Linked DNA regions of Homo sapiens: region 1 is linked to region 2. Evidence: promoter capture Hi-C in 16 types of primary human blood cells and fetal thymus (Javierre and others, 2016). All regions are on one chromosome and are shown on one strand. The core of a region is centred on a gene start or on the middle of the fragment in contact, and the rest is flanking DNA. Distances in the headings are between cores, read along the strand shown.

Region 1 (6,147 bases), core at 1,807-4,306, 45 kb before region 2:
AATTTTTGTATTTTTAGTAGAGACGGGGTTTTCCCACATTGCCCAGGCTGGTCTCGAACTCCTGACCTCTGGTGATCCACCCACCTTGGCCTCCCAAGTGCTGGGATTACAGGCGTGAGCCACCATGCACAGCCCCAGTTACACTTCTTACAAAAATTTTTTAGTGGTTGCCTTAGGATTTGCAATATACATTTACAACTAATCGAAATCCACTTTCAAATAATATTCTGTCTCACGGTTAATGCAGGTACCTTATAATATAACAGAGTATTCCTAATTCCTCCCTCCCTTCTCTACTAACATTGCTATAATTCATCGAACCACTTGTTCATGTGCTCTAATCACCCAATCCATTGCTGCTATTATTACTTTGAACAAACAGTTATCTATTAGATCTGATAGGATTAAGAAAAAGATTTATTTTATCTTCATCTTTTGCCTTCTCTGATGTTCTTCTTTCTTTATGTAGATGCAAGTTTCTGATTTATGTAATCGTCTTTTAGCATTTCTTGAGAGGCAGGTCTGCTGGTGACAGATTCCCTCACTTTTGTTTGTTTGAGAACTTTTTTTTTTTTTTTTTAACTGGAGTAGCCTCCATTCTCCAAAATAGAAAGGGTCCCCTGAGGAAGTCTTTATTTTCTCTTCACTTTTGAGAGATAATTTCATTGTATTCAAAATTTTAGTTTGGGTGGATTTTTTTTTCAACACTTTAAATATTTCACTTTACTCTCTTTTTGCATGCAGATTTCTGACAAGAAATTACATTTTCATTCTTATCCATTCCTCTATAGGTAATTTTTTTCTCTTCTTTAAGATTTTCTCTTTGTCTTTGGTTTTTGCAATTTGAATATGATATGCCCAGGTATAGGGTTTTTTTTGGTATTTATCCTGCTTTGATATTTTTGTCTAATCTTCCTGCATTTATGGTTTGGTTTCTGTCATTAATTTAAAAAAATTCTCAGCTTTTTTTTTTTTTTTAGATGAAGTCTCGCTCTGTCACCAGACTGGAGTGCAGTGGCGTGATCTCGCTCACTGCAACCTCTGCCTCCTGGGTTCAAGTGATTCTCCTGCCTCAGCCTCCCAAGTAGCTGGGACTATAAGCACCCACCACCACACCTGGCTAATTTTTGTATTTTTAGTAGAGAGAAGGTTTCACCATGTTGGTCAGGCTGGTCTTGAACTCCTGACCTTGTGATCCGCTCGCCTCGGACTCCCAAAGTGCTGGGATTACAGGAGTGAGCCACTGCACCCAGCCTGCCATTATTACTTCAAATATTTATTCTGCCCATTTCCTTCTCCTTCTGGTATTTCCATTACACATAATTACATATTTTGTAATTGTCCCACAGTTCTTGAATATAGTTACTTTTCTTTTTGCATTTCAGTTTGGGAAGTTTCCATTGACATATCTTCAAGCTCATTGAATATTTCCTCAGCCATGTCCAGTCTACTAATCCATCAAGGCATTCTTCTTTTTGGTCAGTGTTTTTGACTCTAACGTTTCCTTTTGATTCTTTCCTAAAGTTCTCATCTCTCTGCTTTACATTACCCATCTGTTCTTGAATATTATCCACTTTTTTTCCATTAGAGTCCTTAGCATATTAATCATAGTTAATTTAAATTTCCACTCCAATAATGTATTAATCATGTTTTTTAATTTTCTGTATTTTATGAGGTTTTGACATCTTAGGGGCCTGCTAATCCTGGAAAGACTGCCTCTTCCAGAGCTAACTAATTTCTAGAGGCAGTAAACAACTTGCCCATGAGCATCCAGCAAACCAACCAATCCAAAGCTTGTATCCCTAACCACCTCCTTTATCTAACTCTTGCACACCAAGCCAGTACTTCCCCTGCCCTAATTAATCCCAGGGCCAGAGACCAGACAACTAGAGATCACTGCTGTAACACAGAGCCTGCTGAAATTGTCCAGACTTGTCAAAGCTAAGCTATTTACCTTGCCCTGCCTTCCTTTCCTGTGGGAAACACAATAAAGGCTTGTGTCCATGCTTTTCTCTCTCTGTCTACCTCCTGACTGAACCGGATGCTTCTCCATCTGGCCCTGTGTGGCATGAGTTGTCCCCTCCCCTTAAGAACTGTAATAAGCTCTTCTTTCAAGGCAGTTGTCTCCATGTTTGTCATTTTACCATACTTGATTGAAACAAAATCTTCAGTACATTTTAAAACAGATAATACCAAAATCTCTGCCACATCTGAGTCTAGTTCTGATGCTGGCTATGTCTCTTTGGATTGTATTTTTTCTTGTCTTTTAGCACGCCTTGTAATTTTTTGCTGAAAGCAGACATGGTAATAGGAATTGAGGTAGACTGTGTGTGAAGTTTTATTTTTATTTTTATCTGACCAGGAGTTAGACTGTGTTTAGTTTGCTGCAGCAGTAGGTGTCAAAGATTTTAATTTCTTCTAAAGTCCTTGTGTTTGCCTCCTCTGTTGTCTTTGAGTTTCCTTAGAAACTCCTTCGTAAATAGAATCTAAGCCTTGCAGCCCTGTCAGCTATAATCCACTTTTACTATTCAGGAGTCCTGTTGATGTGGTAGCAAGATACTGGGTAGGAGAGCATTCTATAGTCCCATGATTGGAGCTCAGTATTTTAGTGGACCTGTGACTCTAGACTGTAACCTTCATAATTGCTTCTTAGGGTATTTTTTTGTTTTGTTTTGTTTTGTACCTCATATGTGAGATAAGAAGTCCAGAATGAATTGTTTCTTAGGGTATTTTTTTGTTTTGTTTTGTTTTTTACCTCATATGTGAGACAGGAAGTCCAGAATGTGATGGAGCTAGATAATTTCCCTTTCCCCAAGTAAAAGAAGACATCGGCAAAGGCTTTCCCCCTGCTGGATAGGCCTTAGTTGTGGAGAAAGCTCTGGTTTTATTTCTAAATGGTCACTTTACCCTCGCCCTGCCAAACATAAGGATATTTCTCTCCATTCTTCATCATGAGAACCTGGTGGGAGGTAAAACTCATGAAAGTGTGGGTTCTCCCCTTAGACTGGGGTCCCAGGAGTTTTTAACTCTCAAGCTAATTCACGCTCAGCCTCTGGCAATTCATCGAAGTTACCATTTAGGTGTTCCTGTCAGTTACTGGTTCCAGCACCTCCTGCTTCAGGTAAGCTGGCTTGTATTCTCCGTATTCACCCGTCTCTCCAGTTTTCAGGGTGATAGTTTGTCCTGTAGCCAAAATTCTCTGATAGAACTAAGAAAAGTTGTAGGTTTTCAGTTCAGCTTTCTTCTTGCTTTGAGAATGAGAGTGACCGACTTATAATCTCTTTACATGTTGGAGTGTTCACAATCAGAAGTGTTCCCACTAGATTCTATGTTAGTAACATGCCTTCGTTTTAAACTAAAACATTTTGTACATACTTATTTTTCAACTATAAAAATGTTATATTTATTAAATTAAAATAATAAGTATTTCAATTTAATTACCAATTATGACTCTATATAGGTATCACTATAACCATGCTGTCTATATCAAATATTCAAATAAACACATTATAATGTTAAATTAGTGTGAGAAAAACGCACTGGAGCAAATCAATCTATTGACAACAACTAGTTTGGTGATGTTTGTGTATACACTAGAAACAACACATATTCTTGATATGTTACTATAATACGACAATATCTTATGTTGATCGTTGAAGTAAAACAATCCTACCAAAACAACAAAGCTGTGTTTTACCGAAAGTATTTTACACTGCTTTAGTTTTTTAAGAGCTTTATTGCGGTATAATTTACATAGCATAAAATTCACCCCTTTTATACAATTCAATTATTTTTAAGGAAAATTTACATTTGTGCAAGCATCACCACAATCCAATTTAGAGCATTCCCAATGCTCCAAAGGGATCCCTTACACCCATTTGCAGTCCATTGCCATTTCCACCACCAGCTTCAGGCAGCCACTGCCTTCTGTCTTCATAGATTTTCCTTTTCTGGACATTTCATAGAAATGGAATCATAAAATATGTGGCCTTTTCATCTGGATTCTTTCATTTAGCATGTTTTTGAGGTTAATCCATGTTACATTAATAACATGTATCAGTACTCATTCCTTTTTATTGCTGAATAATATTCCATTGTATGGATGTACCACATTTTGTTTATCTGTTCACCTAATGATAAACATTGGGATTATTTCCACTTTTTGGATATTATGAATAATATCCAAGCGTTTATGAACAAACGCTTGTTTGAACTTGTTTATATAAGTCTTTGTGTGGATATATACTTTCTTTTCTATTGAGTAAATACCCAAAAGTGGATGGCTGAGTTATTTGGTACATGTATGTCAGTTAAGCTTTTAAGAAAAGTTCAAACTGTTTTCCAAAGTAGCTGTTGCATTTTACGTTCTCACCAGCAATGTTGGAGAGTTTTGGTTTCTCCACATCCTAGCCACAATTTATTATTGCCTTTCTTTTTTATTATAGTCACACTCATGGGTATGAAGTGCTATCTCATTGAGGTTTTAATTAGAATTTCTATAATGATTGATGATGTTGAGCATATTTTGTGTGCTTGTTATACATTTGCATATCTTTGTTGAAATATCTATAAATCTTTTCTTTCTTTAACCTTGCTAATTAGCTGACTTTAAGTCTATAAATCTTTTGACTATTTTAAAATTTTCTTGTATTATTATTGAGTTGTACTTGTTCTTTATCTATTCTTAACACAAGTCCTTTATTAGAAATATGATTTGCAAGTATTTTCTTCCAGTCTGTGGCTTAGATTTTAATTTTCTTTTTAAAATTTTAATCTTCTTAATGACATCTTTTGAAGCACAAAATCTTTCAACTTTGATGAAGTCCAACTTACAATTTTGTCTTTTGTGGATTATGCTTTTGGTATTGTATGTAAGAACTTGTTTCCTAACCAAAGACTTTTCCTACGTTTTCTTCCAAAAATTGTAAGTTTTAGATCTTACATGTAAGTCTCTGAACTGTTTTAAGTTATTTTTGTGTATAGTGTGGGGTGTGGTCTAAATGTATCTTTTTGCATGTGTGTATCCAGCACCATTTCCTCAAAGAATTGTTTTGGAATCTTTGTTGAAAATAAATTGATCTCCCTTCATTTTAAATTTTAACTAAATGAAAAATTCAGTGTCTCAGTTGCACTAGACACATTTCAAGTACCCAACAGCCATGTTTGGCTAGTGACTACCACACTCAGTAGTGTAGCCCTAGGGGACACAAAGATGAAAATATTACAGTTCTCAACCCCAAGGACCTCATATTCTGGTGCCATCAACTTAAGGAAACTGAAGCGGTGTAAGAATAAGCAATATGCTAACAATGAAAAGCAACAGCAGGAAAAAAAGCCACAATGATTGTAAATTAATGCTTTCAAAGAGTGGCTATATGTAAACATATTCATAATTTTTGACTAAGGAATTCGTCTCCTAGAATTTGTTCTATTGAAATCATTCAAAATAAAAAGAAGCCATGTGTACTTATGTTTAGAGATACTTTATTTATAAGTTCAAAAAAACTACAAACAGGGAGTCAGTGGGAAAGAGGAGTAACTGCTAATAGGTATGGTATTTCTTTTGGGGGTGATGAAAATGTTCTAAAATTTGATAGTGGTGATGCTTGCACAACTCTGAATATACTAAAAACTACTGAATCGTATATTGTAAAATGGTAAATGTTATGGCACATGAATTATATCTCAATAACAATGTTATTTAAAACTATAAACAATCTAAATATCAAACAAGTAAATGTTAATATTTTTACTCAGAAATAGCAAATGAATAGCTCCGTAGCTCCATTTATTGGGCATTTACTACATGCCAGGCACTATTCTGAGCACTTTACATGCATTAATTCAGTGGTTCTCAATGTGTGGTCCTCAATCCAGTAGCATCTGGTATGCAAATTCAGGCATCCCAGGCTGGAGTGCAGTGATGCAATCTCGGCTTACTGCAGTCTCCACCTCCCAGGCCCAAGTGATTCTCCTGCTTCAGGCTCCCAGGTAGCTGGGATTATAGGCATGCACCACCACACCAGCTAATTGTTTTGTATTTTTCATACAGATGGGGTTTCATCATGTTGATCAGGCTGGTCTCAAACTCCTGACCTCAAATGATCTGCCTCCCAAAGTCCTGGGATTACAAGCATGAGCCACTGC
Region 2 (6,875 bases), core at 3,322-5,821:
TCTTGATCTGCTCAGCCCTGGAGGTGCCAGCAAAGCCCCATGCTGGAGCCTGTGTAACAGCTCCTTGGGAGGAAGCAGAATAAAGCAATTTTCCTTGAAGCCGAGATCCTGACTCCAGACTCTTCTTCACTGCCCTGAGGACCCGGGGATGGGGTCTGGACTAGGGGAGGTGGAAATGCAGGGGAGTGGGGGCAAATTCAAAGGCCTGGCCTAGGAGGCCTTCGTGGAGCAGCACTGAAAACCCCTTTCACTTCCCCCAAACCAGCCAAATGCAGCAGAGGCGACACCTCTCCTCCCAGCCTTCTCCCTGGTCCAGCCAGGATTTAAAGGAGATTTAGGGAGACCCCTAAAGTTCACCTAGAGCACCCTGAGCCCATCTACTGTGGACCTGCACCCCAGCTTCCGTCAACCCTGCCCCACCCACCACCATGGATACTGCCCAGGGCTGGGCAAAGGGCAGCGGTTCGGGGTGTGGGTGCTGGCCAGTGCCCTTTCTGAGCCCGCAGAAGTGTGAACCACTGGGCCAGGTGAGGCAATGGCTGCCTAAGTGCCAGTCCCAGGCGAGTCTCTGAGAGTACACAAGGATTCACAGCTGTAGCCTGCATCCCCTTTTAAATAGAGCCACCACCCTCTCCAGCCACCGCCAGAAGCCAGCATACCCCCTGCCCACCACAGGTGGGAGAAACACACCCTCAGCCCACCTGCCGTCCTCCTCAGCTCCTCCTGGTGCCGAGCCCCCTTGGCCCAGGGTGCTCCCTTCTTCCCACTCATTTCTTCCCATTGTAATTCCCATTACCAAGCCCTTTGTCCTCTGGGCTTGTGGGAAGATGGGGTTCTCCTGGCCCATTTATGGCAAGCCATCTTGAGGGGAGGCAGACAGATGAGGGGCTGGGGAAGGTTATGTGTGAACAGGACTCTGGGGAGAGGGAGGGAAGGGATGGCTCCCGAGAGGGCCAGGAGGTGGAGGAAAGAGTAAGTCTCCTCCAACTAAACAAGTTCAGCCCCTTTGGAGTTCCTGCCACAGCTGGGTTGCTTAGGCAGGCCTGGGACTGTGGGCCACAGAGGTCAGGGGCTTGAAAGGCACTGGGGCTGTCGGCCCCACTGGGAACCTGGGAAGCAGTGGTTCAGCCCTGGACTGGATCTCCCCCAACCCACCAACATACCCACTCGGAGCCCACTCCTGCTCTGTACCCAGCTCTGAGCTCGGAGCTCTGAGGACTGCGGCAGCCAGAGCCAAGGGCCCTAAGCCGGAGAAGGAGAAACCAGTACTGGACAATAGCAGGTGACAGCAGAGGAGAAAAAGGGGGTAGGGAGGGGACAAGGAAAGACCTGAGGGGGTGGCAGTGGACAAAGAGATTGAGCAACCACAGGACAAGGTAACCAGAGGAAACAGAGACAAGGAAAAAAGATGCAGGAAATGAGGAGGCCCCAGAAAGATCCGCAGGCGCCGCCACCTTTCTCCTCATAGCCACCTCCATTCTCCTTCCCTAGGCCAACCCAGACAGAGCTCCCTCAAACCAGGGATGCTTCCTTTTCATTTATCCAGCTCAATTGAACCACACAGCCCCAGAGGCCAAGGTAATTCAGTTCTCTGTGATTTCTAGGATTCTTTCAGCCTTTTTGTTTTTGTTTTTGTTTTTGTGACGGAGTCTCACTCTGCTGCCCAGGCTGGAGTGCAGTGGCACAACCTCGGCTTGGGCCGAGATCCCTAGGGCCATTCCTCTGGCTAGGAACAGACTTGGACAGCAATGAAGAGATAACTAGAAACAAAGGAGAGAACCCTTGAAAAGGGAGCTATGCAGAGAGACCCAGGGCACCTAAGCAACCAGAGCAAGAGAGACCGCAAGAGATACAGATCCTATGAGAATGGTCGGGGGCTGGATGCAGACAGCAGGGTTGAGAGAGGTCTGAGAGCCAAGCCAGGGAGAAGGAGGGGTGCTGAGGGGGATGGGGAGAGAGGAAAAGAGAGGGAGCCTTGGAGGGAGAAGCTTGAAGAGCTGCGGGTGGTGATCCCGAGTGAAGGAAAGAATCCTGGGTCACTTGCAAATGCAAGGAGAGTCAGGAAGGCGCAAGGAGATTGGAGAGGAGGAAGAGCCTGGAGCAAGATGTGGAGGCCCAGGGCGAGAGAAGAGGCCAGCTCGGAGAGGGCAGAGCCTCATGTTAGACCCTGAGCCGGGTGGAGACACGGGCCAGGGAGAATCGGAGGCAGGCCCCACTCTGAGATGGAGAAGCAGGCAGAGGGAATGAAGGTGAGACAGAGACAGATGCAACGGGGAGCCAGGCAGAAGACAGGCAACCTGTGCCAGGGAGGCCAGCCTTGCCTCCTTGGCACCCTCACCTGTGGCCGAAGCCTCCATCCCTGTCCTTATATTCCAGGACTCCCAGCAGAATGAGGAGCTGTGTGCAAGGCAGCTTAGGGAGGACGGAGAGCAATATGTGAGAGCAGGGAGAGAAGGAGCCTGGGGAAGGGAGAGGACGGTACAGCGGAGCAGACGGGCAGGGCCTGGGGCTGAGTGAACACCTTCCTTCCTCCTCCTTCCACAGGAGCGGGGGACTACCCCCCACCACCTCCACTCCCCGCTGCCCTGCCACCACCACCTATACCAAGTGAGGCCTGCTCAGAGCACAGGGTTCCCTGAGGACAAAGCCTGGTCTTTGTCACCTGACCCCGACCCAGACTGACCTGGCGTTCTCAGCTCCTTATCATGTCCCCAGAGCTATGGGAACCAAGCAGTGACGCACTGGCCATGGGCTAACCCCCCGGCTCGAATTCTGGGGCCTCGAGTAACCTAGAGCTGGGGACAGGTGGCCTGCATCCCCTGGGGGTAATGATTTGGCATAAGCACCTGCAGAAGATGGGGATGTGGGGTCAACTAAGGTCCCTCCAAGGACATTGAGAAAAGGTCCAAATGCTCTGGAAAGAGAGGTGTGTTCCTGAGCCCAGGAATGGGGTGGCAGCGTCCTAGGGAGCTAGGGGAGAGGCCACATCTTAATGGAAAGTGCTCCTACCCAGAGAAGCTGACCCCTGTCGTCCTACCCACCTCCACACCCTGGAGCTATATTGAGAGGTGACAGTAAACTGGTGGGAGGGGGGCTGGGAGGGTGTTCCTGGGTGTGAGGGTGGGGGGAAGGCCAGAGCAGGGGAGTCTGGCTTTGTTTCCTGAACACAATGTCCACTTAGTCATAACAGGAACAGCCTGCTGAAGACCTGACACCTACAGCCTCTGAGAGATGGCAGCATTGGAGGATGGGGAGCGGGGCCTTGAGGGCCTAGGGTGCTTGAGGACACCCACAAAGAAGGGAATGTGAGTATAAGCCCTGGAGGGCTTGGAAAGGGGCAACAAAATTCTGCCTGGGGAGGGGGCAGGTGGCAGAGCCCCACCCCGATGGAATGCAGTGCCTGGGGACCAGATGGTGTAAATCCCCAGGCCTGCCAGGCACCTGCACCCTCTGGCAGCCCGGTGAGGCAGAAGGGGACAGCCCCTCACCCACCCCCCTCCTCTCTCAGGCCCTAGGATTAGCACCATCTTCTTCTGCCCACCCCACCCCAGGAGCAGAGGGTAGCAGGGGAGGGCAAAAGCCTATGTGTGCAAATGCGGATGTGCAAATGTGTGCATCCATGTACACAAAAGAAAGTAGAAAAGAAATCTGCAAGCTTGAGTGGGTAAGTGTGAAAAATCTGCATGTGTGGCTGAAGATGGGCACAGACACGGTCAAGTCTGTATGTGAGAGTGCTGAACTGGGGTTCTGTGTGAAAATCTGCCTGAGGCGGCAGGGAGAATCACTGCCATTGCGTGAGCAGGTTGGATGTTGGCCACTCTATCAGGAGCATTAGGGAAGGGGTGGGGACTCCAGACGTGTCCCCAAACCAGGGTGGCCTCAAGACCTTGGGAGAACACTTGTCTGAAGACTTGGGGAACAGAAGGAGACCAGGCATGGCACTTATGCAGACTGAGGCCAGGACAGAATTTCCTGACAAAAGAAAACTGAGCCATGGAGATGGACAACAGATCCCTTCCCTGGGCACCATACTGCAGCTTTTAGTCCCTAGCACTGGGGGCTCCAGTACTAACAGCAGGAAGATGCTCCCAGCCTGGGACTGTGTGAGGGAGGTCAGAATGGGAAGGAGAGGCTGGGGAACAGGGGAGGAAAGCCCATGGTTGGGAGGCGGAGGACAGGCATTTGGCCTGCAGGAGAAGGTGACCCTCACCCATGTTTTCAGTTCACCCTTCGGGTTAAAAATAACTGAGGTAAGGGCCATGGCAGGGTGGGAGAGGCGGTGTGAGAAGGTCCTGTCTTCCCACTATCTGCTCATCAGCCCTTTGAAGGGGAGGAATGTGCCCAAGGACTAAAAAAAGGCCGTGGAGCCAGAGAGGCTGGGGCAGCAGACCTTTCTTGGGCAAATCAGGGGGCCCTGCTGTCCTCCTGTCACCTCCAGAGCCAAAGGATCAAAGGAGGAGGAGCCAGGAGGGGAGAGAGGTGGGAGGGAGGGTCCCTCCGGAAGGACTCCAAATTTAGACAGAGGGTGGGGGAAACGGGATATAAAGGAACTGGAGCTTTGAGGACAGATAGAGAGACTCCTGCGGCCCAGGTAAGAGGAGGTTTGGGGTGGGATGCCCTGCAGCCCGTCCACAGAGCCCCCACCGTGAGGGACCTCCTTCACCAGGAGTGGGGTGCAGGTCAGTTGGAGGCCTAAGGGCTCTATTAAAACTGCCTATCTCCAGGCCCAGGGAAGTTCCCCCTGACACAAGGAGGTTCCACAGGAAACCCAGAAACCTCTTTTCTCCTTCTCTGACTCTCCATTTCTTTCTCTGCATCATTCTGAGTCTCCTACATGTTGTCTCCATCTTTCCATCTTCCTTCCTCCTTTGGATGGCTTCCTTCCCTTGATCCTGGTTTTATCTTGCCTCTTGGTCTTCATCGACACTTGTCACAATCATGCTTCTTTGTCTCTCTCCCTTGTCCTTCCTTCTTGGCACGTGTTCTCACCTCCCTGCCTCTCTGCTTCTAACCCTGTTTCCACACCCCGTCCCTCGCACTCATATTGACTCGGTGCCCTTTCTTTTCTGCCTCTGCGTCTTTCCCTTTCTGACTCCCTGGTCTGTCCTGCCTGTCTGCGCTCTGGGGCTGCCTCCATCCCCGGGTGGCCTGCCTCTGTTGTTCTTCACTCTCCTCATCTGTTCTTCTCTCTGCCCGGCTCTACCTCTGTTGTTCCTTGCTCCACCCACGGTCCAGATTCTTCAGGATTCTCCGTGAAGGGATAACCAGGTGAGAACTGCCCCCATTTTCTCTGCAGAGACTGGGGCATGCTTCTCCTGGGAGCCGGATTGCTGGACCAGGGGTCTGCTGTCCCAAGCACTCAGCGCCAACCCTTAGCATACTCCAGCCAATGCCACCCCAGGGAAACCCCTTACAGAGATTGTCCTTCAGCATCACCTCAGAGGGCAGGAGAAGCAGAGCCCTGAGTAGGGGAGGGTGCAACAGCAGGTGCCTCTCCCAGGGTGGAGGAGAGGAGCGGGGGTAGGGAGGGGGGCTGCAGAGGACAAAGCCACTCGCTGGAGCCTGGGCTCCCTCAGGAGTAACATAGCCCTCCTGTCTCTGACCCAGGGGAAGCACCAAGATGACCGATGCCCAGATGGCTGACTTTGGGGCAGCGGCCCAGTACCTCCGCAAGTCAGAGAAGGAGCGTCTAGAGGCCCAGACCCGGCCCTTTGACATTCGCACTGAGTGCTTCGTGCCCGATGACAAGGAAGAGTTTGTCAAAGCCAAGATTTTGTCCCGGGAGGGAGGCAAGGTCATTGCTGAAACCGAGAATGGGAAGGTGAGTAGGGCATGGCGCCGGGGCAGAAGGGAAGGAGGTCTGGGAAAGAAGATGCAGAGGTGGAGCCACTTGCAGGGGGAGCTGAGAGGGCTGGAGAAAAGCCAAGGCCAGTGGGGATGCCAGGACATGCTCCTTTGAGGAGCCCAGAATCTGATCCCTCTCAAATTGACCTGAGCTGGTGCAACAGGTGCCACCCAGGGCCATGTTCCCCCTGCCAGAGAGGATGCTGAGGAAGAAGAACCTCAGTGTTCGCCTAAGAGGGGTCTTGTAGATAAAGAGGGCACAGACACAGCATTAAATGATGCCCCCTTCTTGCACTTGTATCCCTCTTCCCTGTGCCTCAGTTTCCTCCATGAGTCCACTTTCTCAAATTCCGTTCACCCAAATCAAGAGTAATTCTTAGACCCAGATGAACACAAAGATCAGAAACTTTTGAGCTGAGCACTCTCCTTGACTGGCACTCAGAAGCTCTGGTCCCTGGTTTGCTCACACCAGCCAAGAGAATCACCCCTGGTTACCAGCTGCGGCTCAGGGCTGTGTGCCTCATGAACTCGTTGACTGAATGTTACAACCCATTGAAGTGTAGAATAACAGGCCACAATCCCCTGGGGCTTTTGACTCTGATCCCAGCTCTGCCACCCGCTAGTCACTGTGCAGGCAAATCATTTAGTCATTTAGAGCCACGGATTTCTCCACTATAAAAAACACTGGAATACCTACTGGCAGGATCTAATGACATCAGGGCATGGCAAACTGACTGCTGCCAATCAAACCACACCAACAGTGATGGATGGGGAGTGTGGAGTAGATGGGTGAACTACTTTTCCAGCAGGGGTGAAGGTTTGCCCTGAGCAACAGATACCCTAAAGCGCTGCCCGCGGGAGACAGCCTCGGGGTCAGCATAAGGTGTGCACAGATCTGAGAGCTGCCAATCTCCAGGTCTGCCCCAAGACCCTTGGAACATAGGGACTGAAGAGTGATGGTCATGGGCACAGGGTGTCCCCAGGATGGTCTGGGGATCTGGCAAGAGAAAGGTACCCTAGGACAGTCTCTA

What was found. Contacts are between HindIII fragments. The CHiCAGO score rates a contact against its expected background, and 5 or more counts as called.
Region 1: a fragment that was not itself captured here is called in contact with the fragment with the promoter of MYH6 in region 2 in 1 of 17 cell types (megakaryocytes); the score reaches 9.1 in megakaryocytes.

Annotation. Positions count from the first base shown.
Region 1 is chr14:23,450,367-23,456,513 of GRCh38, reverse strand. No RefSeq gene overlaps it. Among named protein-coding and RNA genes, the nearest start is that of NGDN, 16 kb to the left of the region's middle. The HindIII fragment of the contact is 2,522 bases long and covers 1,796-4,317 here.
Region 2 is chr14:23,405,969-23,412,843 of GRCh38, reverse strand. It overlaps MYH6 (myosin heavy chain 6), which reads left to right and starts at 4,571. Exons shown (of 39, transcript NM_002471.4): 1 at 4,571-4,591; 2 at 5,236-5,268; 3 at 5,608-5,821. The coding sequence starts at 5,621. It overlaps MYH7 (myosin heavy chain 7), which reads left to right. Exons shown (of 40, transcript NM_000257.4): 40 at 1-104. RefSeq lists enhancers at 5,218-5,718, 3,401-6,875. The HindIII fragment of the contact is 15,953 bases long and covers 3,658-6,875 here.